Linked DNA regions of Homo sapiens: all the other regions are linked to region 4. Evidence: promoter capture Hi-C in 16 types of primary human blood cells and fetal thymus (Javierre and others, 2016). All regions are on one chromosome and are shown on one strand. Each heading gives the region's core, a stretch centred on a gene start or on the middle of the fragment in contact. The rest is flanking DNA. Distances are from core to core; before and after follow the strand shown. Region 1 holds the start of ZGLP1 (zinc finger GATA like protein 1). Region 2 overlaps C19orf38 (chromosome 19 open reading frame 38). Region 3 holds the start of ICAM4 (intercellular adhesion molecule 4 (Landsteiner-Wiener blood group)). Region 4 holds the start of KRI1 (KRI1 homolog).

Region 1 (6,895 bases), core at 2,600-5,099, 260 kb after region 4:
TATATATATATATGTCTTTAACCATGTTAATAAATATTCACTGACTGAATCTTCATGACAACTTGAGTAGTAGAGACTGTTATTCCCTATTATAGATGAGGCAACTAAACCCCAGGTTAAGTAGACCTGGTCTAAGGGCAAGTGAGTGACAATACTAGACTCACCAGTCCATTGTAGCCACTAATCTGTGCTGCCTTTCTATGAATACCTACTGCGCGTCAGGCAGCAATATACAAAACAAATAAGGCCTCTGTCATCTCACATCCATTTCGGTCTAATAGGGACAATAATCCCACAGGTAAATACATAATTATGACCAACTTGGGAAGGGTTGTCTGGAAGAAAATATATAGGGTTTGCTTTTGGGATGAATATATCAGGGATCCTGATTTTATCATTAAAGGGGAAGATATGTTGGGAGGGGTTATGAAAGGCCTACCTAAAGTTCTGTTCTGGAATCCAGCAGCCAATAGTCTAGGACAGGGATTGGAATGTGAGATAGATTTATTTGTTCATTTATTTATCTGAGACAGAGTCTCGCTCTATCACCCAGGCTGGACTGCAATGGCATGATCTTGGCTTACTGCAACCTCTACCTCCAGGGTTCAAGTGATTCTCCTGCCTTAGCCTCCCGAGTAGCTGGGATTACAGGCAACTGCCACCATGCCCGGCTAAGTTTTTGTATTTTTAATAGAGATGGGGTTTCGCCATGTTGGCCAGGGTGGTCTCAAACTCCTGACCACAGTTGATCTGCCTGCCTTGGCCTCCCAAAGTGCTGGGATTACAGACATGAGCCACTGTGCCGGGCTAGTAGAGGTAAGTGGCCTGGCAAGGTGTGGTGGCTCACGCCTGTAATCCCAGCACTTTGGGAGGCTGAGGCGAGCGGATCACGAGGTCAGGAGATCAAGACCATCCTGGCTAACATGGTGAAACCCTGTCTCTACTAAAAATACAAAAACAAAATTAGCCAGGCATGGTGGCAGGCGCCTGTAGTCCCAGCTGCTCTGGGAGGCGGAGGCAGGAGAATGGCGTGAATCCGGGAAGCGGAGCTTGTAGTGAGCCGAGATCACGCCACTGCAGTCCAGCCTGGGCAACAGAGCGGGACTCCATCTCTAAGAAAAAAATTACAAAGGAAAACAAAGGAATGAATGAGGGGGATGGGGGAACTGCAAGACTAAGTGAAGGAGTTTGGATTTTATTCTGAGTGTGAAAACCCTTTGGAAAGTTTTAGGCCAGGAGGGACATGATCCCCAAGCACCGGTCTCTGTGATCAGAGGATGTGGGGGTGTGACCAAGGGCAGGTGGTCAGCAGAAAACTTCAGGTTCTGTCTCTTTCAACCCTAATTCCTGGTCTGGTGCAGTGGCATATGCCTGTAGTCCCAGCATTTTGGGAAGCCAAGGCAGGCAGATTGCTTGAGCTTAGGAGTTTGAGACCAGCCTGGGCCACATGGTGAACCTCGTCTCTACAAAAAAAAAAAAAAAAAAAAAAAATATGGCCAGGTGCGGTGGCTCACACCTGTAATCCCAGCACTTAGGGAGGCCGAGATAGGTGGATCACCTGAGGTCAGGAGTTCAAGACCAGCCTGGCCAGCATGGCAAAACCCCATCTCTACTAAAAATACAAAATTAGCTGGGCGTGATGGTGGGCACCTGTAATCCCAGCTACTTGGGAGGCTGAGGCAGGAGAATCACTTGAACCTGGGAGGCAGAGGTTGCATTGAGCCGAGATCATACCATTGCACTCCAGCCTGGGCAAAGAGAGCGAAACTCCACCTCAAAAAAAAAAAAAAAAAAAAATTAGCCAGGTGTGGTGGTGCGCACATGTAGTCCCAGCTACTCGGGAGGCTGGGGTGGGAGGATCGCTTGAGCCGGGAGGTTGAGGCAGTAAGCTATGACTGAGCCATGGCACTCCAGGCTGGGCAACAGAGTGAGACCCTGTCTCAAAAAAAAAAAAAAAAAATCCTGGCCGGGTGCAGTGGCTTACGCCTGTAATCCCAGCACTTTGGGAAGCTGAGGCGGGCAGATCATGAGGTCAGGAGATCAAGACCATCCTGGCTAACATGGTGAAACCCCAGCTCTACTAAAAAAATATAAAAAAATTAGCCAGGCGTGGTGGCAGGCACCTGTAGTCCCAGCTACTTGGGAGGCTGAGGCAGGAGAATGGCGTGAACCCGGGAGGCAGAGCTTGCAGTGAGCCGAGATCGTGCCACTGCACTCCAGCCTGGGCAACAGAACAAGACTCCATCTCAAAAAAAAAAAAAACAAAATCCTAATGCCTGATTCCTTCCCCCACCACACTGACTGCTGAGTCAGCCGGTCCATCCTCCAAGAGCAGTGGAGAGGTGGGGACACATTAGCCCAGCACAGTGATAGGGTCACAGCAAGGGCTCACAGACTGCGGGGAGCCTGCCTGGCCTTTCCCCTCTCAGCTACCTGGCAGCCAAGTCCCTGCTCCTTAATGGTTCTGCATCTCAGCCTGCTAGGGAGTCCCTGGGAAATGGGGCCTCCCAGATGTCCGTTTGTAAACCCTACACACTGGGGAACAGCTAGCTGAGGACATTGAGGACATGACACAGTGCCTGGTACACACAGTGGAGCTGCAGGCCCAGGAGGGAGACGTGAGGCACGTGGTGGAAGAGAGGTCTACTCCTCTACGCCATTCGCATAGCAGCCCCTTCCTGACTCTGCCACTCACCTGCGCCCCCTTCACTTCCCACCCCTAGGGGCCTGTGAAGCCTCCCTGGCCTGCTCCACCTGCCATGTGTATGTGAGTGAAGACCACCTGGATCTCCTGCCTCCTCCCGAGGAGAGGTGAGTGGGTCAGCCCTGTCTAGCTGGCAGCTTCACCCTGGAGCATTCAGCAGCCCCCACCATCCTCCCCACTTCCAGTTCCTGGAATGGGAGCTGCCTCCCCCACCACTACCCCCTGCGCTCAGTCAGCTTCCTCCCTCCCCCACCTCTGGCCCCCCACCCACCCAGCTAGCTTGCCCTCGGCTAACACTGCCCGTGTCACCACCCTAGGGAAGACGACATGCTAGACATGGCCCCCCTCCTCCAGGAGAACTCGCGGCTGGGCTGCCAGATTGTGCTGACACCGGAGCTGGAAGGAGCGGAATTCACCCTGCCCAAGATCACCAGGAACTTCTACGTGGATGGCCATGTCCCCAAGCCCCACTGACATGAACACCTGGACCATTCCACATTGCCATGGCCCCAGGGCCCAGATTGAGGGAATAGCCAGGTGCCAGCCCTGCCCAGAGTGCGGACAGGCCCGGGAGAGACGTGGAAGCCCCTGTGAAGGACAACACCCCTGCTTGGGAGAGAGTCCCATGTCCAGGCTCTGGTGGGGACAGGGCCCCTAGTGGGGTGGCCTTCCCCAGGCCCCTGAGAATCAGGGTTTGAGTAGGAGTGGACTCATATTGGAGCTGCAATAAATCGATAACACAGGCCCCAGCATGTTGAGTGTCCTTGGGGGACAGATCTGGGGTCTACAGGTGGCTCACACCTGTAATCCTAGCACTTTGGGAAGCCAAGATGGGAGGATCACTTGAGGCCAGGAGCTTAAGACCATCCTGGGCAACATGGCGAGACCTCGTCTCTATAAAAACAGTAAAAATTAGCGTGGAGTGGTGGTAAGTGCCTGTAGTCCCAGCTACTCGGGAGACTGAGGTGGGAGGATCACTTGAGCCCAGGGGATTTAGGCTGCAGTGGAGCGGTGATCAGGCCATTCCACTCCAGCCTGGGTGACAGAGTGAGGCCCTGTCTCAAAAAAAAAAAAAACAAAAACAAAAACAAACCACACCTGCATCTGCTGTGCTGGGCCCCCGGTTCTCTTTTCCCTCTGGGATCTAAGATGCCGCTGGGGATCCAAGGCAGAGGCCTGGGAGCCCCCATTTCCGAGGGGGAGGGCTAGCGTGGAAGGCCCCGCCCCGGCAGCTGCGGAGGGATTTGGTGGGGTCCAGGCCGCCCTTGCCACGCAGGGGTGCGCGGATGACCTGAAAAAAGCCAGAAAGAGGAAAGGTGCCGCCGAGGCTGGTCGCTCTCAGCTGGGGCTCATCGCATCCTCTACCAAGAGCGCTCCCACCACACAGGTCCCGCCCCTCCCAGGTGGGTTTCATCGGGTGGGCCCAGCGGGACAGGGCCGGGTGAAATTAGGGAGGGGGCTGGGCTGGGGCGCAATGGAGGCCGAGCCAATCCCGGACTCCTCAATGCCAGCAAAGCTTCTGGCGCCGCCCTGTCTGAACCTGGAGCGGCTGGGAGGATCCCCCTCCCAGGAGAAGCCGAGGACCCCAGGATGCTGCAGAATCAGTGAGAGGTGCGTAAGGCCAAACCCCATTCCCCGGACCCCGCTAGCACTTCACCACCTGGCTCAGTGATCAAGGGGTCATGACCTCTCTTTGCTGGGGTTATCGAGAAGTGGCAATTTTATAATAGTTACTGAAACTTACAAAGAGGTTCTGGTGCCCAGAGACACTTGGGGTCATCTAGGGATCAGAGGCCATGCAATTCCATGTCTCTGGGGCTGATGTAGGCACTCCCCAGGGATCATCCAGGGGTTATGGAGGGCAACTCAATAATAATGAAAATGATAAAAATCGTAATCATATTATGGCAAGCCAGCGGCGTGGTGGCGCGTGCCTGTAAGTCCCAGCTACTCGGGAGGCTGAGGCGGAAGGATCGGTCGAGCCCAGGAGTTCTAGGCTGCACTGAGTCCTGATCACGCCCCTGCACTCCAGGCGGGGGTACAGAGTGAGGCTCGGTCTCTAAAAGAAACACAAAGAAAAAAAGTAACCTTTTTCTCGATCCTGCAGCCAGAGGCTTGATATCCTGCCTCGGTCACCTAGGGCGGTCCCTGCCTGGGTGATCTACGGGTGCCGTAAGGGGTTGATTGATGTGGAGGGCTGGGCGTGCCTGGGAGGCCCACAGTGGGCGAGGTGAGTTGCAATTACTGCAACTCTTAAACCTTCCACCCAGAGTTAGAAATGACTGAACCTCAGGTGGGGTGTGTAGCCTGTCCAAGGGTACACAAAGAGCCGGCCCAAGTTGGAACCCCCTGGCCGGCTAAACCCAGGAGTCACCCAAGAAAACGTGACCCCACTGCCCTTCTCCCCAGGTCCCTCTGGCCTGCATGCCAGGAGTCGGTCACCGCCCTGTGCTTCCTCCAAGAGACAGTGGAGAGGCTGGGTCAGTCCCCTGCCCAGGACACCCCGGTCCTGGGGCCTTGCTGGGACCCGATGGCTCTGGGGACTCAGGGCCGCCTGCTGCTGGACAGGGATTCCAAGGACACACAGACCAGGATCAGCCAAAAGGGCCGCCGTCTGCAGCCCCCGGGGACTCCCTCGGCCCCACCCCAGAGAAGGCCCCGGAAACAGCTGAACCCCTGCCGGGGCACCGAGAGAGTGGACCCTGGGTTCGAGGGGGTGACTCTGAAGTTTCAGATAAAGCCGGACTCCAGCCTGCAGATCATCCCCACGTACAGGTAGGGGCCGGCTGGGGCCAGGCCGCCCTTTCTCCCAGTTACAACGCAAACACCAGTGTGGGAGGTAGGGGTGCTCTCTGGCGTCGGTGTGGACCCTCACCTGTGCTCTACGTTACACGTGGCCCAGTCTCTGGTTGACAACTTGAGCTGGTGCCAGATACAGTCCTGCCGCTCCTGACTCAGTGGCTCCCCACTCCCAATGTGAGACCTGGTCTCTTTAGGAATCAGGCCTGGCCTTGCTTAGGCTGCAGCTGCGGCTGCGGTGATTTTTCCCAATAATGCTAACAGCTACTATTTGTTGGTAGTGACAACAATAAGAGGTTAACAGGCAGTATTTTATGTGTATGGGCTCATTCAAAAGCCTGGGGAGGCCGGGCACAGTGGCTCACGCCTATAATCCCATCACTTTGGGAGGCCAAGGCGAGCAGATCACCTGAAGTCAGGAGTTTGAGATCAGCCTGGCCAACATAGTGAAACCCCATGTCTACTAAAAATACAAAAAATTAGCTGGGCGTTGTAGTGGGTGCCTGTAATCCCAGCTGCTCAGGAGGCTGAGGCAGGAGAATCGCTTGAACTCAGGAGGTGAAGTCTTCAGTAAGCAGAGATAGCGCCACCTCACTCCAGCCTGAGCCACAGAGTGGGACTCAGTCTCAAAAAAAAAAAAAAAACTAGCTGGGAATGGTAATGGGCACCTGTAATCCCAGCTACTTGGGAGGCTGAGGCAGGAGAATCGCTTGAACCCAGGAGGTGGAGGTTGCACTGAGCAGAGATGGCACCACTGCACTCCAGCCTGGGTGACAGAGCAAGACTCCATCCCCTTAAAAAAAAAAAAAAAAAAGCTTTGGGAAGCTGGGCCTGGTGGCTCACACCTGTAATCCCAGCACTTTGGGAGGCCAAGGTGGGAGGATTGCATGAGCCCAGGAGTTCAAGACCAGCCTGGGCAACATAGTATGACCCCCAGCTCTAATTTTTACCTATTTATTGTTATTATAAAAATTATAATTATGACTTTTTTAATCATGCCGCCAAAACAATATTTTTTTTTTTTTTTGAGATGGAGTTGCACTCTGTCGTTCAGGCTGGAGTGCAATGACACAATCTCGGCTCACTGCAACCTCTGCCTCCCGGATTCAAACGATTCTCCTGCCTCAGCCTCTGGAGTAGCTGGGATTACAGGTGCCTGCTACCACGCCTGGCTAATTTTTGTATTTTTAGTAGAGATGGGGTTTTGCCATGTTGGCCGGGATGGTCTCGATCTCTTGACCTCAGGTGATCCATCTGCCTTGCCCTCCCAAAGTGTTGGGATTACAGGAGTGAGCCGCCACCATGCCTGGCTGCTTTTTTTTGCTTTTGTTTGTTTGTTTGTTTTTGAGACAGGGTCTTGCTCTGTCACCCAGGGTGGAGTGCAGTGGCGCA
Region 2 (6,765 bases), core at 764-3,263, 290 kb before region 4:
AAAAATATAAATAATTGGCCAGGCGCAGTGGCTCACGCCTGTAATCCCCACACTTTGGGAGGCCAAGGCAGGTGGATCACTAGGTCAGTAGATCGAGACCATCCTGGCTAACACTGTGAAACCCCGTCTCTACTAAAAATACAAAAAATTAGCCAGGCGTGCTGGCACGTGCCTGTAGTCCCACTTACTCAGGAGGCTGAGGCAGGAGAATCACTTGAACCCGGGAGGCGGAGGTTGCAGTGAGCTGAGATGGCGCCACTGAACTCCAGCCTGGGTGACAGAGCAAGACTCTGTCTCAAAAAGAAACAAACAAAACAAAAAACAACAAAACCCCACAAATAATTAGCCAGGTGTGGTGCACACCTGTAATTCCAGCTACTTCAGAGGCTGAGGCACAAGAATAGTTTGAACCCGGGAAGTGGAGGGTGCACTGAGCTGAGATCGTGCTACTGCACTCCAGCCTGGGTGACACAGAGAGACCCCATCTGAAGAAACAAACAAAAAAAGAGATGGCTGGGCACGGTGGCTCACGCCTGTAATCCCAGCCCTTTGGGAGACTGAGGTGGGTGGATCACCTGAGGTCAGGAGTTCGAGATCAACCTGGCCAACATAGTGAAACCTCGTCTCTACTAAAAATACAAAAATTAGCCAGGTGTTACGTGCCTGTAATCCCAGCTACTTGGGACGCTGAGGCAGGAGAATCGATTGAACCCAAAAGGTGGAGGTTGCAGTGAGCCGAGATTGGGCCATTGCCTTCCAGTCTGGGTGACACAGCTAGAATCTGTCTCAAAAAAAAAAAAAAAAAAAAAAAAAGAATATATATCTGAAGCTTCAGGGCACAATCTTGCCTCCATGAGGGGGAGAAACTACCTGAGAATAAGACAGAAGAGGAGCTGAGAAGGCAAATGCTTTCTGTCATTTTTCAGCACCTGGATCCAGCCATATCTGAAGTCAGCCATGTAAACTGACTTCAGCTCAGTGAACCAACAAATCCCCTCTTGCTGGTAGAGCCAGTGTGAGTCAGGTTTTTATTACTTGCAGTCTGGGTGCCAGTGGCCAGATGACATCCACCCCCAGCCCAACGGTAGACCCTGAGATCCACCCAGAAGCTAGTCACACAGGCATGGGAGTGGCAGTTCCAGAGTCACCTTCTCAGCACAAGACTTCGCTTCCCCTTCCTGGAGAAAGAGGAGATGCCCTGACCCCAAGGGAGGTGAGGAGCTAAGCCAGAAGAGGGAAGAAGACAGACGCTTGGTATTCTCACAATGTCAGCCTTGTTCATTGATTCACCTGGGGCAGAAGGGGTGTTGTCAGCTCCCTACTCCAAGGCCACAAGGCCAAGGTGAGAGAAGGGGGCCTTTGATAGAGGAGCCTGAGGCCGGGAAGGACAGAGAACTGCCCTGTCATAGCTGCATGTTGGCCTCGGCTGGCAACAAGATTATTTTTTGCAGTGAAAAAGTTCTTTTTAAAAGTTTTTTTGGGCCAGGCGCGGTGGCTCATGGCTGTAATCCCAGCACTTTGGGAGGCCGATGTGGGCGGATCACTTGAGGTCAGGAGTTGAAGACCACCCTGGCCAACATGGTGAAACCCCATCTCTACTAAAAAATACAAAAATTAGCAGGGTGTGGTGGTTGGCGCCTGTAGTCCCAGCTACTCGGGAGGCTGAGGCACGAGAATCGCTTGAGCCTGGGAGGCAAAGGTTGCAGTGAGCCGAGATTGGGCCACTGCACTTCAGCCTGGGCGACAGAGTGAGACTCTGTCTCAAAAATTAAAAAAAAAAAAAAGTTTTTACAGACAGGGTCTCCCTCTGTCACCCAGGCTGGAATGCAGTGGTGCGATCATGGCTCACTATATCCTCTACCTCCCCGGCTTAAGTGATCCACCTGCCTCAGCCTACTGACACATGCCAGCAGTCCCTCCTAATTAAAAAAAAAAAAAAAAAAACATTAGCCGGACGGGGTAGCTCACGCCTGTAATCTCAGCACTTTGGGAGGCTGAGGTGGGCGGATCACAAGATCAGGAGATTGAGATCATCCTGGCTAACACTGTGAAACCCCTTCTTACTAAAAAAAAAAATACAAAAAATTAGCTGGGCATGGTGGCACATGCCTGTAGTCCCAGCTACTCGGGAGGCTCTGAGGCAGGAGAATCGCTTGAACCCGGGAGGCAGAGGTTGCAGTGAGCCGAGATCGTGCCACTGTACTCCAGCCTGGGCGACAGACCGAGACTGTCTCAAAAAAAAAAAAAAAATTGGGGGGAGCTGGGCATGGTGGCTCACGCCTGTAATTCCAGCACTTTGTGAGGCCGAGGCAGGCAGAACACCTGAGGTCAGGAGTTTGAGAGCAGCCTGGCCAGCATTGTGAAACCCCATCTCTACTAAAACTCAAAAAGTAGCTGGGCATGGTGGTGCACGCCTGTAATCCCAGCTACTCGGGAGGCTGAGGCAGGAGAATTGCTTGAACCTCGGAGGTAGAGGTTGCAGTGAGACTCGAGAGGCTGAGGCAGGAGAATTGCTTGAACCTCGGAGGTAGAGATTGCAGTGAGCTGGGGTCACACCACTGCACTCCAGCCTGGGCGACAGAGTGAGTCCCTGTCTTTACAAAAAATAGACATATTAGCCAGGCGTGGTGGTGCACGGCTGTAGTCCCAGCTGCTAGGGAGACTGAGAAGGGAAGATTGATTGAGCCCAGGAAGTGGAGGCTGCAGTGAGCTGTGATTGCGCCACTGCACTCTAGCCTGGTCAACAAAGCAAGACCCCTATCTAAAAAAAAAATAAAATAATTTTTTTTTTTTTTTGTAGAGACAGGGTCTCACTATGTTGCCCAGGCTGATCTTGAACTCCTTGGCTCAAGGAATCGTCCTGCCTCAGCCTCCCAAAGTCCTGGGCTTATAGGCGTGGGTCATTGCACCCGGCCAGGAAAGTTCTGACTGATGGTAACACAGAAGGCCACCAAAGGCTCCTCCCTCCTGCTTCTTGACCCATAACCCATGTCCAGCCTCCTCATTCAGAGATCAGAAAAGGACATCAGCCCTGCCAGGGTTCCCTCACTCAGGTGAAAAGATCGAATCCTTGCTGTGGTCTACAAGACCCCCCACGATCCTCCTGGTGAACTCCCTGCCCCGCCTCTCCCCATTTTCCTCCTTGTTCACCATCCTTCAGCCATACTGGGCTCCTCAGACACACCAGGGAAGCTTCAGCCTCGGGGCCTTTGCACATCCTGTATCCTCTGCCTGCAACACATGCCCTGGATATCCACATGATTGGCTCCTCCTCATCATTCAGTTTTTTGCTCAAATGCCACCTCCTCAGAGAGGGCTTCCCTGATTGCCCTACTCTACTTCAGAGTCCAGAGGGCTGACCATTAGAACATGGGGCCAGTCGCCCTACTCTACTTCAAATAATGACATCCTCACCCAGGTGGATTTCATCTGGTGCCCTGCTGGCAGGTTGAATATATATTGGATTTCATGTTTATCATCTGTCCTCATCCGCCTGGAATGTCAGCCTGGAATGTCTTTGGGCAAGCCCAAAGACAGTTCTTGGTCCATAGTAAGTGCTCAGAAACCTTATGTGGCTCATGCTGGGCATGGTGACTCACATCTGTAATCCCAGCTACTCTGGAGGCCGAGGTGGGAGGATCACTTGAGGTTAAGAGTTCAAGACTAGCCTGGTCAATATCTTTTTTTTTTTTGAGACAGAATCTTGCTCTGTCACCCATGCTGGAGTGCAATGGCACTGTCTTGGCTCACTGTAACCTCCGCCTCCCAGATTCAAATGATCCTCCTGCCTCAGCCTCCTGAGTAGCTGGGATTACACACGCATGCCACCACACCCAGCTATTTTTTGTATTTTTTTTTTTTTTTTTTTTGAGACGGAGTCTCGCTCTGTCGCCCAGGCCGGACTGCGGACTGCAGTGGCGCAATCTCGGCTCACTGCAAGCTCTGCTTCCCGGGTTCACGCCATTCTCCTGCCTCAGCCTCCCGAGTAGCTGGGACTACAGGTGCCCGCCACCGCGCCCGGCTAATTTTTTGTATTTTTAGTAGAGACGGGGTTTCACCTTGTTAGCCAGGATGGTCTCAATCTCCTGACCTCATGATCCACCCGCCTCGGCCTCCCAAAGTGCTGGGATTACAGGCGTGAGCCACCACGCCCAGCCTATTTTTTGTATTTTTAATAGACATAGGGTTTCACCATGTTGGCCAGGCTGGTCTTAAGCTCTGACCTCAGGTGATCCACCTACCTCAGCTTCCCAAAGTACTGGGATTACAAGCATGAGCTACCATGTCCGGCCCTGGTCAACATTTTAGACCCTCATCTCTAAAATAATTTTTTAAATTAGCTGGGCATGGTGGTGCACACCTGTAGTCTCAGCTACTTAGGAGGCTGAGGTGGGAGGATCACTTGAGGATAGGAATTGGAGGATGAAGTGAGCTATGATTGTGCCATTGCCCTCTAGTCTGCACGACCTTGTCTCATTTAAAAAAAAAAAAAAGCCAGGTGCAGTGGCTCATGCCTGTAATTCCAGCACTTTGGGAGGCTGAGGTAGGCGGATCATGAGGTCAGGGGTTCGAGACTGGCCTGGCCAACATGGTGAAATCCTGTCTTTACTAAAAATACAAAAATTAGCCGGGCATGGTGGCACACACCTGTAATCCCAGATACTCAGGAGGCTGAGGCAGAAGAATCGCTTGAACCAGGAGGCAGAGGCTGCAGTGAGCCAAGATCGTGCCACTGCACTCCAGCCTGGGCAACAAGAGCATAACTATCTCAAAGCAAACAAACAAAAAAAGTATGTGGCCAAGAGGGGAAGTAATGTATGTCACGGAGGTGTAATTCATGGTTTTTGGAAGGCAATGGCATCCCAGACTGGCTACCTGTTACCTGTGTACAAGGTGTGTACCTCCTGTGCCTCAGTTTCCTTATCTGCAAAATGGGAAGAATCACAGCACCAATTTTGGCACCAAGAGGGAGACGGGCTGCCTGACAATAAGACGGAGAAGAATGTGGAGCAGAGATGGGGCAAATGGTCCCTGACAGCTTTCAGCACCTGGATCTAGCCATACCTGAAGTCGGCCCTGTGAGCTGACTTAAGCTCAGTGAACCAACAAATCCCCTTTTGGGCTGGCTGAGAAGATTGAAAAAGGAAAGGCGAGTAAGTCCTGGCAGGGTGTAAGCCTGGCTTTTTCTGGGAAGGCCTCTGAGTCAACAGTACACACAAGAGGTCCATGTGAGAAAATTAAGCCCCCGGCAGTGAGATCCCATAGAAGGGCCTTACCTGGGAAGGAGACGTTCACGGGCTCGCTGAGGTCTGACAGCTGGGACTGGTTGAGCTCACCTAACACTCCATACTGGCAGTGGAAGGGTCCCCCTGGAGCCTTGCTGCTGCCGCCGCTCAGGTTAAATGTCACCCCGCGCTGGTCCGTGGGGGCCTGCAGGAGCTGGACCACCTGCCCCCCTCGATACAGTGTGAAATTCGCCCCCGGGAAGTTCCCAGGGGCCATGCATGCGATGTGGATGGGGTCCTCTTGGCTGCTTGGGTACGGGGGCACCAGCCGGATGGATGGTGCTGGGATCGCCAAGGAGCCTGCAATGCAGAGGGTAAGGTGGGTGGGTGCGTGGTGAGAGTGGAGGCTGCCCTGGCTATGTGGCCTCGGGCAAGTAGACCACCCTCCCTCAGCCTTGTGTTTTCTGTGAGTCAGGAGGCTAGTGACCCTACCCCACACTGCCTGGCACATGGTGACGGCTCCCTGTAGTTGAATTACTTTTCTTTTTTCTTTTTTTTGTGAGTCGGAGTCTCACTCTGCCACCCAGGATGGAATGTAGTGGTGTGATCTCGGCTCACTACAGCCTCCACCTCCCGGGTTCAAGTGATTCTCCAGCCTCCCAAGTAGCTAGGATTACAGGCATGTGGCACTATGCCTGGCCAATTTTTATATTTTTAGTAGAGATGGGGTTTCACTATATTGGCCAGACTGGTCTCGAACTCCTGGCCTCGTGTGACTCCCCCCACCTCGGCCTCCCAAAGTGCTGGGATTATAGGCGTGAGCTACCATGCCTGGCCATCAGTTTTCAATAATAGCATTGGTTATTACATAGCAACACAACTATACTCTTATTTTTTATTTAATTTATTATTACTTTATTTATTTATTTAGAGACAAAATCTTGCTTTGTCGCCCAGGCTGGAGTACAGTGGCCTCAGCCTCCTGAGTACCTGGGACTATGTGCCACCATGCCTGGCTAATTTTTATATTTTTAGTAGAGACGGGGTTTCACCATGTTGGCCAGGCTGGTGAACCTGGCTAGCTAATTTTGCTTATTTTGTGTAGAGATGGGATCTCACTATGTTGCCCAGATCCTCACCTCAAGTGATCCTCCCACCTTGGCCTCCCACGAGCTGAGTCCTGAGTGGTGAGGAAGGACCCATTTGGAGAGCTGGGGAAGGGCATTCCAACAGAGGGAACAGCATAGGCAAAGGTCCAGGGGATGGAAGGGGAATGGGGGTGTTTAAGGAGGAGCAAACACCTGATGCAGTGGCTCACGCCTGTAATCCCAGCACTTTGGGAGGCCAAGGTGGGAGGACTGCTTGAGCCCAGGAATTTGAGACTAGCCTGGAGAACACAGTGAGACCCTGTCTCTATTTAAAAATAAAAATAAATATTAAAAAAGGAGCAGCAAGGAGGCCATCATGGCAGGAGGGAGGGGGTGAGTGAGGTGGGTGGCAGGAAGGGGAGGGGGTGAGTGAGAGGGAGGGCAGGAGAAGG
Region 3 (7,018 bases), core at 304-2,803, 280 kb after region 4:
CTTTATTGATTCCAGAGGGTTCCCCCGCCAATATTTATTTTTATTTTTATTTTATTTTTGGAGACAGGGTCGTGCTCTGTCCCCCAGGCTGGAGTGCAGTGGCACGATCAAGGCTCACTGCAACCTCGACTTTCAGGGCTCAAAGGATCCTCCCAACTCAGCCTCCCGGGTAGCTGGGACCACAGGTGCGGGCCACCACACCAGGCTAATTTGTGTATTTTTTGCATAGACGGGGTCTCACTATGTTGTCCAGGCTGGTCTCGAACTCCTGGGCTCAAGCGATTCTCCTGCCTCGGCCTCCCAAAGTGCTGGGATTACAGGCGTCAGCCACCATGTATGGCCATTTCCCCAGATTGTTTCATATTCCTCTTTTTCTCGCTCAGCCGGCATAGAACATCCCCCTTTACGCCTGGGACTTCATAGCTAGGCACTTGCATAGGTACGCAGCGCCCACAGTGAGGAGGATCCCTACAAGGGCAGCGATGGAACCGGAGGCCAAAGCTGTGGGCGCGGGGCTCCAAGCTGGGAGCAGAAGGCGAGAATTAGGAACGGAACACAGGGAGGTCTGTCGACCCGCGTGGAGCTCACGCTTGGTCTGTGCGCCCTCTCGGGGTCATAACTCTCTCTGCCCCCTTCCTCCTAGTCCCCAGGGTTACAGGGGTGCCTCACCGAGCATCAGTGTAATGGGTGCCGAGCTGTTGCGGACCACCAGGCCGTCGAGATTGAGGCGCGCGTGGCAGATCACGGGCTGCCAGAAGTCGCGGGGTCCAGCAGCAAACTCGTAGGTCAAGGTCACGTTGGCCAGATCCAGGCCGGTGAAGCGCTCCAGGCTTTCGGAATAGATGACCCGGCTTCCATGCCTCAGGGTCACCACCAAGTAGCCCACCGGGAACACCTGCGTCACGTGGCAGCGCAAAGTGTATTTCCTGCCCTTTAAGACCGGAGGCTCCAAAATCACGCTGTGGGGCGGTTCTAAGGCAAGGGGGAGCCTCTGAGTGAGGTCCGCGGGCGCTCCCTATAGAGCGACTGTCAACTACCCTTCCCCCACCTCTTCCAGCCCCCTCCCCTCACCCCAGCCGGGACCGAGCCCCTGTCCCTCACTGTAGGCGGTGATCCTGGAGGTGGCCCAGCGTGTTTTTCCTGCGCAGGTCACGAGGCAGTGCGCGAGGGAGCTCCAGGCCCTCACGTCGAGCAGCTGGTAAGACACCCAACCCGGCCCTCTGAGCGTCTTGCCTTGCCGCAGCGGGGTGCGGAGGCTGGAATTCTGCGGCTGGGGACAGCTGTTGCTGCAATTGAGCTGCACTGACTTCCCCGGCTGCACAGCCACGAACTCCGGGCTCATGCGCACCCAGAAGGGCACTGAGGTCCCGGAGGGCGCGAGAGGGCTACCCTTGGGGCTTTGCGCCCGCTTAGTCCGGCGTCCCAGCGCGCTCCCAACTCCCGGGTAGGCGGCCGCCAAAAAAAACAGCAGCGACAGAGGGAACAGAGACCCCATGGCAAAAAGCCCGGACTAAGGGGCCCCGCGCCAGAGAGCCAGGGCCGGCTCTAGAGATAAGGAGGCCCGCAGCCCCGCCTCCTCGACTCCACCCTGGAGAGGAAGGGGAGGCCCCAACAGAGGGCCCGGGAGTACTGCAAAAAGGGATTCCGCTCCCCAGGTCAAGAATAAGATTCCAGGCCTCATTAGAAACCAAATGTTTTTTTCTGGAGAGGAGTCTTTAGTTTTCACTAGAGACCCAGAAGGTCATAGAAAGTCCGATTTGGACCAGAACCTCAGGGTATGGCCATCAACCCACAATGTTTTCTTGGGGGAGGAAGTGGGAGGATCAGGCTGTGGCTGCTTAGAAAGGACTCCAGCTGGATGTGACACCTCCCCTCAACTCACACAAGGCTGAGGCAGTTGAGAAAGCTTTATTAACTAACACAAAGGAAGTCTGGGCAATGTTGCGAGACCCCGTCTCTGGAAAAAAAAAAAAAATCAAATTTGCCAGGTGTGGTGTTGTGAGCCTATGGTCCCAGCTACTCAGGAGGCTGAGGTGGGAGGATCACTTGAGCCCAAAAGGTCAAGACTGCAGTGAACCATGATTGCACCACTGCACTCCAGCCTGGGTGACAGAGCGAGAGCTTGTCTACACATACACACACACACACACGCGGATGAGGCTTCCAAAGCTGGGAGGGAGTCCTCCAATACCTTGGCCCCCTTCCCCACTGCTTGCAGGACCCTGATCACTGCAGGAAACTGGAGCTGCATAGTGCAAGCTCCCAGTGAAATGCAAACAGGACAAGAGGACAAGGCATAGCTTGGGCATATTCCCTGGGCACTCATGTCCAGACATGACCGCTGAGTGTCATTGTGAACACTGGCAGAAATGTATGTGGGTGGGGAGGTGGCTAACAAAGGTGTCAGTTTTGGGGGGAAGGGAGGAATAAGGCCTCACTGGGTAATCTCTGAACCTGTAACCATTACCAGTCCATATAGTGCTTTTGTGCCGATAGAAAAATCACTCCTTCTGGGGAAAGGCAGGTTGGCCAATGAGAAGTCCCAGCCCCATTTGATCTTTTTGCCAGGCACTCTCCTGCAGTGTACAACCTGTACAACTGTACCTGGTGACCTTGAATGTGATTAGGACTGGGAGCTCCGTGAGGCCAGAGACCTATGTTCATTTAGCCTACATAAAAGACACTCAATAAATAGCTGGTAAAATAACAAATGAATAAATACATATCATCAAGGGTTGGGGTCAGTAGACAGCAGTGCCCAAGCTGGCATCCGTCAGGAAGTGTGGGCCTTTGTGTTTTGATGCTACACATGTCTATGGAGGGCCACTTCTTCTGTAAGTCTGTGGGGCCTCAGCATACCCAATAGGCAGCAAGTTTCAGTATTTCCCAGTTGTATGTCCTCATGGTGGGGCTATGTCTCCCCCACCACTTCCCCTCTCATCAGGCTAGACTTTAACATCCATCAATCATGTCTTGAGTCTTGCTCCTTCCTCTTGGCTTAGTCATGTGACTACAGATCAGATGCGTGGCCTAGTGTTTTAGGTGTGCAGGTACCATGGCCCCAAATGCTGTTGTATCTGACTGAGGACAATGCCCTGTCCTCCGGCGTCCCAGGGCCGGTAGGTGTAGCTGCATGGCATATGTCTTCCACTCTGTTCAGTGTGGCACCACTGCCACCAATATGGGAAGGCCGAGGAAGAGGCCCTGTCCCGGGATAGGTTCAGGGAGGCGTGGCTTGTGTGTTCGGTTTCATGGGGGTCCCTTTTTGGGCCTGTTGTAGTCTGTATTTCTTGATCTTCCGCTGGCGGTTATAGAGGTACGTGCTGAGGCCTGCAGTGCCCATTATGACTGCGGCTGCTACCACAGTGATGATGACAATCTCATACCGGGGGGCTGTGGGGAGGATACAACAGGCGGTGAGGATTGCATTAGGTCCATGGCCCCTGCCCCCACCCAGCTCTGCCCGCCGGCTCACTCACAGAGCACATTCACGGTCACCTTGCGGGTGACCTCCCCTTGAGTGCTCCTGGCCCGACAGAGGTAGGTGCCCTCAAGATCTCGAGTGACAGTCACTGATTCCCCGATGGGCAGTGGGAAAGTGCCATCCTTTAGACACTTGAGCTCGGGCAATGGGTTCCCCCAAGCCTGGCACATTGGAGTCTGCTGGGAATTTTCTGGCCACGTCCAGTTTCCCGGACAATCCCTCTCGTCCAGTCGGGGGCCATCTGGAAAAACACGATGAGATGACATGGAGGTGGGTGGGGGCAGGACTTGGAGGCAAGACCTTATGGGACCTTCAGGGAGATTGGGCCTTGGGGGATAGGGGCCATTGACCAGCAGCCCCACTCACACAGGACACGAAGCTCCCGGGTCTGGTTCTTGTGTATAAGCTGGCCGGCCACCTCCAGGGTTGCAGAGCAGGAGAAGCTGCGCCCGTTGTCCTCTGGGGTGGCCTTCAGCAGGAGCTGGGCCCTCGGGCCCAGTGGCTGGGCTGGAACCCCATTCAGCGTCACCTTGGCTCTAGGGTGGGCCTCACACTTCACTGTCACCTCGGTCCCTTCTGAGACCTCTGGCTTCGTCAGAATCACGTTGGGCGCCGGAAAGCCTGGAATAGGCACACAGTGAGCCCCGCCCCGGGTTCAGGTCACACCCCCAAGAAGCCCCACTCCGCCCCTGCCCCTTCTTACTGTAGATGGTCACTGTCTGCAGTGTCTCCTGGCTCTGGTTCCCCAGTATTACTGCACACGTCAGCCGCTGGGTGCCCTCGTCCTCTGCGGTCACACTGACTGAGGCCTTGGCCGAGAAGGAGTCGTTGCCATAGGTGACTGTGGGGTTCAACCTCTGGTCCCCCAGTGCCAGGTGGACCTGGGCCTCCGAGACTGGGAACAGCCCGTCCAGGGAACAGACCACGGTCCCCTGCGTGTCCACCTCTAGGACCCGGGGGCTGACAAGTTGTGGGGGAGTCGCTGGCAGGACTAGGGAGAGAAGAAAGGTGTGAGCAGACAGGGATGGACGTCCCGAAGCCCTTCTCTGGGGCATTTCATTCCCCCTCCTGCGAGATCCTCTTCCAGGGCCACTCAGCAGCCTAGGTCACATACGCCTAGAACACATGCACCCCTTAGCCGGGGCCACACCCATCTCAAAAGATCCTGTGGCCACAGGCACCGCATTGCAGGATACCCCACCCCCACCTTCTCCCTGCTGGCTTCTTCAATCCTCACCAAAGGTCTGGAGCTGGTAGGGGGCCGAGGTGTTCTCAAACAGCTCCAGCCCTTGGGGCCGCAGGTCCAGTTCAGTGCGGCACGAGAAATTGGCTCCATGGTGATCTCTCCTCACCAGCACCGTGGTCGTGACCTCAGCGGGCTCCCCCACAGCTGGCTCCCGTTTCAGCTCCTTCTCCCCACGGAGCAGCACCACGGTGAGGTTGGCCCGGGGTGCCCCACCCTCCACCTGGCAGCGTAGGGTAAGGTTCTTGCCCACTGGCTGCCAAGAGGGGAGGGGTGCCAGTTCCACCCGTTCTGGAGTCCCTGCAGGAAAACAGAGGTGGGGGTGTCTGGTGAAGTGGACCTTGCTGCCTGCCTAACAGACGAACTGCACCTGCCTGGGAGCCCTACCTCTTCAGTATCTCCCCCAAACACGCCCAGACACCTAAGCAGATAGGAATGTCAAGATCTTCAGTGAAAACTGGTAAGAGGGCCCCGAGTGTTTGTGAAGGGGATCAAAATATTCCTTATTCATGACAGCAGCATCTTAGAGTGAAAAGTGGAAAAGAACTTCAAAGTCTATTGCTAGGTGTCTGGTCAAATAAATTCAGCAGCCCAGTGCACTAGACTGGGCAAACAGTGGCTCGATCTTGGCTCACTGCAACCTCTGCCTCTGGGATTCAGGGGATTCTCCTGCCTCAGCCTCCTGAGTAGCTTAGATTACAGGCACACACCACCACACCAGGTTAATTTTTGTATTTTTATTTTTAATTAATTAATTAATTAAGTTTTTAGACTGAGTCTCCTTCTGTCGCCCAGGCTGGAGGGTGATGGCATGATCTTGGCTCACTGCAACCTCTGCCTCCTGGGTTCAAGCAATTCTCCTGCCTCAACCTCCTGAGTAGCTGGGATTACAGGCACGTGTCACCACACCCAGCTAATTTTTGTATTTTTAGTAGAAACGGGGTTTCAGCATGTTGCCCAGGCTGGTCTCGAATTCCTGACCTCAAGTGATCTGCCCACCCCGGCCTCCCAAAGTGCTGGGATTACAGGTGAAAGTAAATGAGCCTGGCCTAGACATTCTTTAAAAAACAAAACAAAACAAAAAAAAAAACCTGTTGGCCAGGTGTGATGGCTCAGGCTGTAATCCTAGCACTTTGTGAGGCCAAGGCAAGAGGGTCACTTGAGGCCAGGAGTTCAAGACAAGCCTGGGCAACATAGGGAGACCCCCATCTCTAAGAAAAATTAAAAAAAGGTTGGCAGGGCGCGGTGGCTCACGCCTTTAATCCCAGCACTTTGGGAGGCCAAGGAGGGTGGATCCACGAAGTCAGGAGTTCGAGATAAGCCTGACCAACAGAGTGAAACCCCGTCTCTATTAAAAATACAAAAATTAGTCTGGCATGGTGGTGCACGCCTGTAGTCTCAGCTACTCGGGAGGCTGAGGCAGGAGAATCTCTTGAACCTGGGAGGTGGAGGTTGCAGTGAGCTGAGATCGTGCCACTGCACTCCAGCCTAGGTGACAGAGCGAGACTCCATCTCAAAATAAATGAATGAATGAATGAATGAATGGTTAACTGGGTGTGGTGGTGCACACCTGTAGTCCCTGCTACTTGGGAGGCTGAGGCAGGAGGATCACTTGAGCCCAGGAGTTTAAGGCTATAGTGAACTGTGATCATGCCACTGTACTTTAGCCTGGGAAAGAAAGACCCTGTTTCTATTAAAAAAAAAAAAAAGTCAGTAATGACAGAGTCTAATAACAAAAAGGCTGCGTGTGGTGGCTCACGCCTGTAATCCCAACACTTTGGGGGGCCGAGGCAGGCGGATCACCTGAGGTCAGGAGTTCAAGACCAGCCTGGCCAATATAGTGAAACCCCGTCTCTACCTAAAAATACAAAAATTAGCCAGGCGTGGTGTTGTGTGCCTGTAGTCCCAGCTACTTGAGAGGCTGAGGTTTACTTGTGAGGAAAGGATTACTTCAGCCCAGGAGGCAGAGATTGCAGTGAACTGAGATCGCGCCACTGTACTCTAGACTGAGTGACAGAGTGAGAGTCTCTCTCAGAGGAAAAAAAAAAAAAAAAAAAAAGCATCAGGACCGGGGGGGTCCTGCATTTGATACCCAGCCTTGCTTCTTTGCTGTGGGTAAGTGACTTTGTCTCTCTGAACCTCAGTTTCCTGAACTGTAAAATAGGGCTATTAAAGGTAGGAGAATTCACTTAAGAGGTAGACAGAGTCGCTGTACATAAGCAGGAGGTTTCTTTTTTAGAGTGATTGAAATATTTTAAAATTAGATTGTAGTCATGGTTGTTTGTACAGAA
Region 4 (7,018 bases), core at 4,011-6,510:
GCCACTTCGCTCGGCATTCCTATCTTATTAAAGCCATGGCCTGGTCGGGCGTGGGCGACAGAGCAAGACTCTGTCTCAAAAAAAAAAAAAAAAAAAAAAAAAGGCCGGGCACGGTGGCGGGCGCCTGTAGTCCCAGCTACTCGGGAGGCTGAGGCAGGAGAATGGCGTGAACCCGGGAGGCGGGGCTTGCAGTGAGCCGCGATAGCGCCACTGCACTCTGGCCTGGGCGAGTGAGACTCCGTCTCAAAAAAAAAATTAAAAAAAAATTAAAATAAATAAATAAATAAAAAAGCCATGGCTTGATTTGCACAATTGCCATCCTGATACCCCACCTACCTGCTCTCCCCTGCTCTGTACCACACCAGGCACGCTCTCACCTCTGGGCCTTAGCATCTGCTGTGCCTCCCAGCTGGTGTGCTTTTCCCCATATAACCACAAGTCTCCCTCCCTCACCTTTAGGTCTCAAATCAAATGTCACCTCTTCAGGGAGGCCCTCCCTGCCTTTGCGTTTCTTTTTCTTTTCTTTTCTTTTCTTTTTTTTTTTTTTTTGAGACAGAGTCTCACTCTGTTGCCCAGGCTGGAGTACAATGGCGCGATCTCGGCTCCTGCGACCTCCGCCTCCTGGGTTCAAGCGATTCTCCTGTCTCAGCCTCCTGAGTAGCTGGGATTACAGGTGCGTGCCACCAGGCGCAGCTAATTTTTTTTTTTTTTTTTTTTTTTTTGAGACGGAGTCTCGCTGTCGCCCAGGCTGGAGTGCAGTGGCGCAATCTCGGCTCACTGCAGGCTCCGCCCCCTGGGGTTCACGCCATTCTCCTGCCTCAGCCTCCCGAGTAGCTGGGACTACAGGCGCCCGCCACCTCGCCCGGCTAATTTTTTATATTTTTGGTAGAGACGGGGTTTCACCATGTTGGTCAGGCTGGTCTTGAACTCCTGACCTCGTGATCCGCCCACCTCAGCCTCCCAGAGTGCTGGGATTACAGGTGTGAGCCACCGCGCCCGGCTTTTTGCCTTTCCGTTTCAATGGCTCATCTGGTCAGTCCTCTACCACTCTAAAAAGATTTAACTATTGGCGGAGAGCAGGAGCTCACGCCTGTAATCCCAGCACTTTTGGAGGCCAAGGCAGAAGGATCCGTTGAGCCCAGGAATTCGGGACCAGCCTGGGCAACAAAGCAAGAACCCCAACATAAAAAAAAAAATCTGTATTTAAAAGCCAAACACAAATAACAAACAAAAAACACCAGCCTGGGCAACATAGTGAAACCTCATATCTACTAAAAACACAAATTAGCCGGGCGTGGTGGTGCGCCCTGTAGTCCCAGCTACTCGGGAGGCTGAGGCAGGAGGATCACTTGAGCCCGGGAAGTCGAGGCTGCAGTGAGCTGTGATCGCGCCACTGCACGCCGGCCCGGGTGACAGGAGTGAGACCCTGACTCAAAAATAAATACATATATAAATAAAAATTAACTATTGTCTCTGGCCCCAGACCATAGGTGTCCCTGCAGCAGGGGCCGACTGGCGTGCTCTCCACTCGGGCCCCTCTAGGAGGTGCTAAGTAAATATTTGAACGAAGACCTCTGAGTCCCTGTCTGGCTGCGACTATGTCCTCTCAGGCCTTCCCACGTGGCAGCTGCAGGCTCCTTTCCTGCTGGCTCAGTCTGAGCCCGGCAGGGTGATCCCTTCCTCATCCACTCCGTCTCTCCGTTTCCCTTTCTTCACGGTGCTTGACACTATCTAATATTATTTGGTTGTTTGAATGTGCGCGTCCAGCTCCCAGGACGCTCCCTGCACACAGTGAATGAATAAATGAATGAAATAAAGCGCCCAGCTCGTAGTAAGGGCCAATGAATGTCTATTAGTAGTGGAACCTCGGATTGGGTGGCTCCAGCCCTGCCTCCCTTCCCTCAGGAGGCGCCGAGGTCCCAGAGCAGCCCGCGCGACCCTGCCCCTGACCTTTCTCCCTGGGTCAGTTAAACCAGCCTTCTTTCCCGCCTGCCGGGTTCATTTGAAAACCGAAAACCCCGCCATTGCCGGCGGTCCACCGGTTGCCACACTCTGACCAATCAGGAGCGACGCGTTTCACGCCGAGCCCGAAGTTTCCCCGGCGACGCGCAGCCACTGGTTATGCAGGCCCTGTGGGCGGAACGCCGTAAGGTCGCGCGCCGGGCAACGCGGTGCCGCTACACAGTAGCGAGTTTGTAAGAAAACAAATCAGTTGCGTTCGGGGCGTGGCCGGGAGCACGTTGGCTCCGCCCCCTGGCGGCTGCCTCAGCGGCGGCGGCGGCGCAGGCTCAGAGCAGACCCCGCCCGGCGAGGAGGAGGGAGGGTGAGTTAGGGGGAGACCCGGCCCCCAAGGGGCGGGCGCCGGGCAGGGCCCCGCGGGCGGCCGAGGGTTGGGCCCGGCTCCCAGCCCCTCGCCGTCCTCCGGCTGACAGGGGGAGGAGCCCGCCGGGAGGGCCGGGGTCTCGGGCTGGGGAGCCGGGACGGGAGAGCAGCGCAGCCGGGTGCACCGCGGCCGCGCCCCGGGAGGGCTGTTCGGGCCAGCGCCCGCCGGCTGCTCCGCGCTGACAGCGCCGGGCTGGGGCGGGGCGGGGGGCTTTGCAGGCCGCCAGTGTCGACATGCTGCTGGAGGAGGTTCGCGCCGGCGACCGGCTGAGTGGGGCGGCGGCCCGGGGCGACGTGCAGGAGGTGCGCCGCCTTCTGCACCGGGAGCTGGTGCATCCCGACGCCCTCAACCGCTTCGGCAAGACGGCGCTGCAGGTGAGGCCGGGCCGGTCCAGGTTGGGGCGGGGCGGCTAAGCGGGATGAGGATCGAGACCCCAGAGCTCCTCTCTGGTCTCCTGGCCCTGGTGGTGACCCACTGGGAACCGGTCCTTCTTCTCTAGGCTTTCATTGTTCCCCCACAGTCCCCCTTCGAAGGTGGGTGGTGGGTGAGGCTAGGTTGTGGGGGGAGGGGAGAGCTTTTTAGCATCTTCTCTGGGAGGATTCCTGGTTCTCTGAGTGCCGGGGATTCACTTTCCCTGGGGAGGTTCTTATTCCGTGGGTGCGGGTTCAGCTCCTTTGGATGCCGTTTCCATGGGGACGGCTCACGTTTCTTGGGGCTTCTATGGGGAGATCCGATCTCTGGAAGGAGAGGTCCTGTCTCTAGGGGTTCCTCATTTTGTAGGGGGCTCTCTGAGACAAATCTGGTTACTTGGGGGTGGGGTCTTCATTCCTAAAGGTTATGCGGATCCTTGATATAGTATGGGGGCCCCAATGGAGGAACAATGTCAGATTGCAAGACATCCCTATATTCCCTGGGAGACATTTTACAGGGAAGTCTCGTTTCTCTTTTATTATTACTTTTGGAATCCCGCTTCTTGAAAGGAGCTCTCAGGTACTCTGAGGTGACATCACCATTATGTAGGAGGAGGCTATTTCCTGGAGAAGGGGTTCGCTTTCCTTTGACATCTTTTTTCCCTTATGAGGACTATCAATTCTTTGGGGGTAGTTCTCCATCTCTGGGGGCCCATTTCCTGGAGGGGATTTTCTGTTTCCTGGTGATTGCCCATATCTGGGGGCGTCTTTGGTCCCTTGGGGGAGAGTCTTAGGTTCCTTGAAAGTTTCCATGGGGGGCTGTTCTCTGGGTTGGGGGGTCTCATTCTTAAGGGAGTGACCAGCTTTTGGGGGGGGTCCCTATTCCCAGAAGAACTTTCCTGGGGGCTTATGCAGCTTCTCCGTTCACTAGAGGACCCCTCCTCTAGCATTTCCTGTTTCTGGGAGATGCCTCTTTCTGGATGACCCTTCTCTTTCCAGTGACCCCTTTTGTGGAACCTCCTCCCTTGAGGACCTCCTGATCCTCTGTCCCTCACACAGGTCATGATGTTTGGCAGCACCGCCATCGCCCTGGAGCTGCTGAAGCAAGGTGCCAGCCCCAATGTCCAGGACACCTCCGGTACCAGTCCAGTCCATGACGCAGCCCGCACTGGATTCCTGGACACCCTGAAGGTCCTAGTGGAGCACGGGGCTGATGTCAACGTGCCTGATGGCACCGGGGCACTTCCAATCCATCTGGCAGTTCAAGAGGGTCACACTGCTGTGGTCAGCTTTCTGGCAGCTGAATCTGATCTCCATCGCAGGGACGCCAGGGGTCTCACACCCTTGGAGCTGGCACTGCAGAGAGGGGCTCAGGACCTCGTGGACATCCTGCAGGGCCACATGGTGGCCCCGCTGTGATCTGGGGTCACCCTCTCCAGCAAGAGAACCCCGTGGGGTTATGTATCAGAAGAGAGGGGAAGAAACACTTTCTCTTCTTGTTTCTCCTGCCCACTGCTGCAGTAGGGGAGGAGCACAGTTTGTGGCTTATAGGTGTTGGTTTTGGGGGTGTGAGTGTTTGGGGGACGTTTCTCATTTGTTTTTCTCACTCCTTTTGGTGTGTTGGACAGAGAAGGGCTCCTGCAGGCCACAGCCACCTAAACGGTTCAGTTTCTTCTGCGCCTCAGGCTGCTGGGGCCTCAGACGAGACCCAAGGGCAGAGCATTTAAGAGTGAAGTCATGACCTCCAGGGAGCCTAGAAGCTGGTGGCCTTGGCCGGCTGTGCTCAGAGACCTGAAGTGTGCACGTTGCTTCAGGCATGGGGGGTGGGGGGAGCGTCCCAAATCAATAAGAAGGTAGAATGAGTTATGAGTTATTCATATTCTGTTGGAAGCTTGTTTTCCAGTCTCTTGTACAGCGTTTTAAAAGAAATGGATTCTATTTATTATGCTTTATTGGAAAAAATGTTGTAATAATTTAATGTTTTTACCCATTAAATTAAGACTTGTGCATGATCACAGCACGGGTGGCTTCTGATTTTTGAGTCTGGGATGGAGAGTTACACATCCCGGATGTTGATGGGGATGAGGACGGGGGTCGCGGATCGTGGATGTGGTGGGTGAGGGGAGAGAATAGTAATTCCCAGGGCGCCAGGGTGAGTGAGCTGGGTGGGGCAGCGGTTTTCGCTGTCGGAACGGAAGGGAAGCAGGAAACCGCGAGTGGAGAAAGGGCCCCCAGATGTCAGCTGGGTGCCCGGAGCACAGGGGGTGGGGCGGGTGGGCGGTGGCCGCGGCCTTCCCCGCAGGGGCGTAGCCGTGGGCGGTGACTGCGGTGATGAGGCGAAAGGGATCCCGGAAAAGCCAGGGGCGGGGTTAGCAGCGGTACGCCTCGTTTACAAGTGGATGCGGGCGGGACTGAGGGCGGCCCCGCCCCGTCCAGGGCTTCCTCAATGCGCGTGCGCAATGGGCCACAGAACCGCCATGCCGGAACCGCGCGGGTCGTCGCAGCTGCGGGTGAACGCGGCGTTTGCCGCGCGGTACAACCGCTACCGGGAGCGCGAGGAACTGCAGCGGCGTGAGTGCGGGGCGCATGCGCGCGGGAGCCTGCGCGCGCCGGCCGGTTGGGAAGTGGGGAGTCGAGTGGCCCCGCCGGCTGACCTGGGGGGGGGCATCCCGTCTGTGTCCCGCAGTGAAGGATCGCTACGGGGACCGAGACAGCAGCAGCGACTCCAGCTCCGAGTCGGACTCAAGCGACGAGCGCGTGGTGCGCGTCCCCGCCCCGTCCTGGACGTGCGGAGGCGTCCAAGCCCCCCTCTGCACCCCGACCCCGATGTAGACGGGGGGGAACCCCCAACCCCAGAGCGCCCTGCGGGAGCGTCCCATCCTCCGCTCCCCATCCCATGAGGGACAGACAGTGCCCCCCCTCTCCCCAGGGGAGCCAAATCCCCGTTATTTTCTCTCCCCTGCCACGATCCCCACCTGCCCACTCTGATGTGTGGGGCGACTCTGTCCCCCAAGAACCCCCCCTTTCCTCTTTCATCCTCAAGAGTCTAGCCATTTTTTAGTGTACTCCTTGCGCCACGTGGGGCGCCCAACTTCTCACATCAGCCCTGATCCTGGCCCCACTGTGCGGCCTGGCCCAGCCCCTCCCCGCTGTCTCTCTTGTGCCCTCAGCCCACCTGCCCCTTGTCAAGTCTTTGTCTTCCCCAGGAATTACCTTCTCCTTGCCCCTCACCTTCCTCTACCCATATCCTGTACCTACCTGTGGCCTGCCCCTGCCCACCCCAAGAGGGCCCCTCTCCCTCCTGCTGTTTGACCACCTGTTTGACCTCCCCAGCCAGATCCACCCCCCTCCATCCTAATCCCTACGCTGAGCTCACCTGCTGGCGCCAGGGCTCTTATTATCTCCCTTCTGAAATCTATCCCCAACCCTTTTCCTGCCCTAGGAATTTGATCCCCAGCAGGAGCGGGACTTTTACAAAACGCTCTCCTTGTTGAAGAAGAAGGACCCCCGCATTTATCAGAAAGATGCCACCTTCTATAACAGAACAGGTCCGGGGCCACTCCTGTCTAAACCTCTCCTTCCTCTGGAGCAGAATCCGGGGTCCTTTCCTGACTGTGGATTCAGAGAAGTGACTTGACTTCTCTGAGCCTCTTTTCCTGTCTGTAAAGTATATCTAACGGTAGCATCTCCCCTCAGGGCTGTTTTAAGGATAGATTGGGATTTACCCAGTTTACACAGTTCATCTGTTTTGACTATTGAATGAATTGCTTCACAAGTCACAAGTCCTTAGCAGAGCCTAGGTTATTACCTGGTGGTGGAGTTAATGACTGTGTCCTTGGCACTATTCAAGGTGGGAATTGCTGACTGAATGATTCCAACTCCACCAGGCTGGGCAGGTGGTTCAAGCATCTAATCCCAGCACTTTGGGAGGCTGAGGTGGGAGGGTCAATTGAGGCCAGGAGTTTGAGACCAGTTTGGCCAACATAGCAAGACCCCATTTCTCTTTTTTTTTTTTTGAAATGGAGTTTCACTCTTGTTGCCCAGGCTGGGTTGCAATGGGACGATCTCAGCTCACTGCAACCTCCGTCTCCCAGGTTCAAGCGATTCTCCTGCCTCAGCCTCCTGAGTAGCTGGAATTACAGGCACGCGCCACCACGCCCAGCTAATTTGGGATTTTTAGTAGAGACAGGGTTTCTCCATGTTGGCCAGGCTGGTCTCGAACTCC

The links. The method cuts DNA at HindIII sites, captures the fragments that hold promoters and counts their contacts. A CHiCAGO score of 5 or more calls a contact.
Region 1: the fragment with the promoter of ZGLP1 here is called in contact with the fragment with the promoter of KRI1 in region 4 in 1 of 17 cell types (erythroblasts); the score reaches 5.9 in erythroblasts.
Region 2: a fragment that was not itself captured here is called in contact with the fragment with the promoter of KRI1 in region 4 in 6 of 17 cell types (neutrophils, M2 macrophages, M0 macrophages and 3 more); the score reaches 11.3 in neutrophils.
Region 3: the fragment with the promoter of ICAM4 here is called in contact with the fragment with the promoter of KRI1 in region 4 in 10 of 17 cell types (naive B cells, megakaryocytes, total B cells and 7 more); the score reaches 9.2 in naive B cells.

Annotation. Positions count from the first base shown.
Region 1 is chr19:10,306,769-10,313,663 of GRCh38, reverse strand. It overlaps ZGLP1 (zinc finger GATA like protein 1), which reads left to right and starts at 3,849. Exons shown (of 5, transcript NM_001409033.1): 1 at 3,849-4,315; 2 at 5,114-5,479. The coding sequence starts at 4,179. It overlaps FDX2 (ferredoxin 2), which reads left to right. Exons shown (of 5, transcript NM_001397406.1): 4 at 2,724-2,811; 5 at 3,022-3,619. The coding sequence ends at 3,178. FDX2-ZGLP1 (FDX2-ZGLP1 readthrough) reads left to right here. Exons shown (of 9, transcript NR_176052.1): 4 at 2,724-2,811; 5 at 3,022-4,315; 6 at 5,114-5,479. The HindIII fragment of the contact is 20,285 bases long and covers 1-4,222 here.
Region 2 is chr19:10,849,079-10,855,843 of GRCh38, reverse strand. C19orf38 (chromosome 19 open reading frame 38) reads right to left here. Exons shown (of 7, transcript NM_001136482.3): 2 at 5,277-5,585. Among named protein-coding and RNA genes, the nearest start is that of C19orf38, 4.0 kb to the right of the region's middle. The HindIII fragment of the contact is 2,363 bases long and covers 832-3,194 here.
Region 3 is chr19:10,281,490-10,288,507 of GRCh38, reverse strand. ICAM4 (intercellular adhesion molecule 4 (Landsteiner-Wiener blood group)) reads right to left here and starts at 1,553. Exons shown (of 3, transcript NM_001544.5): 1 at 1,102-1,553; 2 at 670-972; 3 at 1-522. The coding sequence starts at 1,495. The coding sequence ends at 404. It overlaps ICAM1 (intercellular adhesion molecule 1), which reads right to left. Exons shown (of 7, transcript NM_000201.3): 3 at 4,722-5,027; 4 at 4,188-4,475; 5 at 3,851-4,105; 6 at 3,480-3,725; 7 at 1,893-3,393. The coding sequence ends at 3,221. It overlaps ICAM4-AS1 (ICAM4 antisense RNA 1), which reads left to right. Exons shown (of 1, transcript NR_186335.1): 1 at 1-2,707. It overlaps LIMASI (lncRNA inflammatory and mucous response associated, antisense to ICAM1), which reads left to right and starts at 5,058. Exons shown (of 4, transcript XR_007067138.1): 1 at 5,058-5,187. RefSeq lists enhancers at 1,426-1,565, 912-1,881, 1,936-1,985. The HindIII fragment of the contact is 2,558 bases long and covers 1-1,908 here.
Region 4 is chr19:10,564,252-10,571,269 of GRCh38, reverse strand. KRI1 (KRI1 homolog) reads left to right here and starts at 5,260. Exons shown (of 19, transcript NM_023008.5): 1 at 5,260-5,364; 2 at 5,480-5,553; 3 at 6,236-6,341. The coding sequence starts at 5,271. It overlaps CDKN2D (cyclin dependent kinase inhibitor 2D), which reads left to right and starts at 2,291. Exons shown (of 2, transcript NM_001800.4): 1 at 2,291-2,757; 2 at 3,853-4,810. The coding sequence starts at 2,617. The coding sequence ends at 4,212. RefSeq lists silencers at 2,025-2,674, 4,990-5,519 and enhancers at 2,955-3,124, 3,564-4,071, 5,020-5,587, 5,790-5,839, 5,588-6,155. The HindIII fragment of the contact is 9,818 bases long and covers 4,687-7,018 here.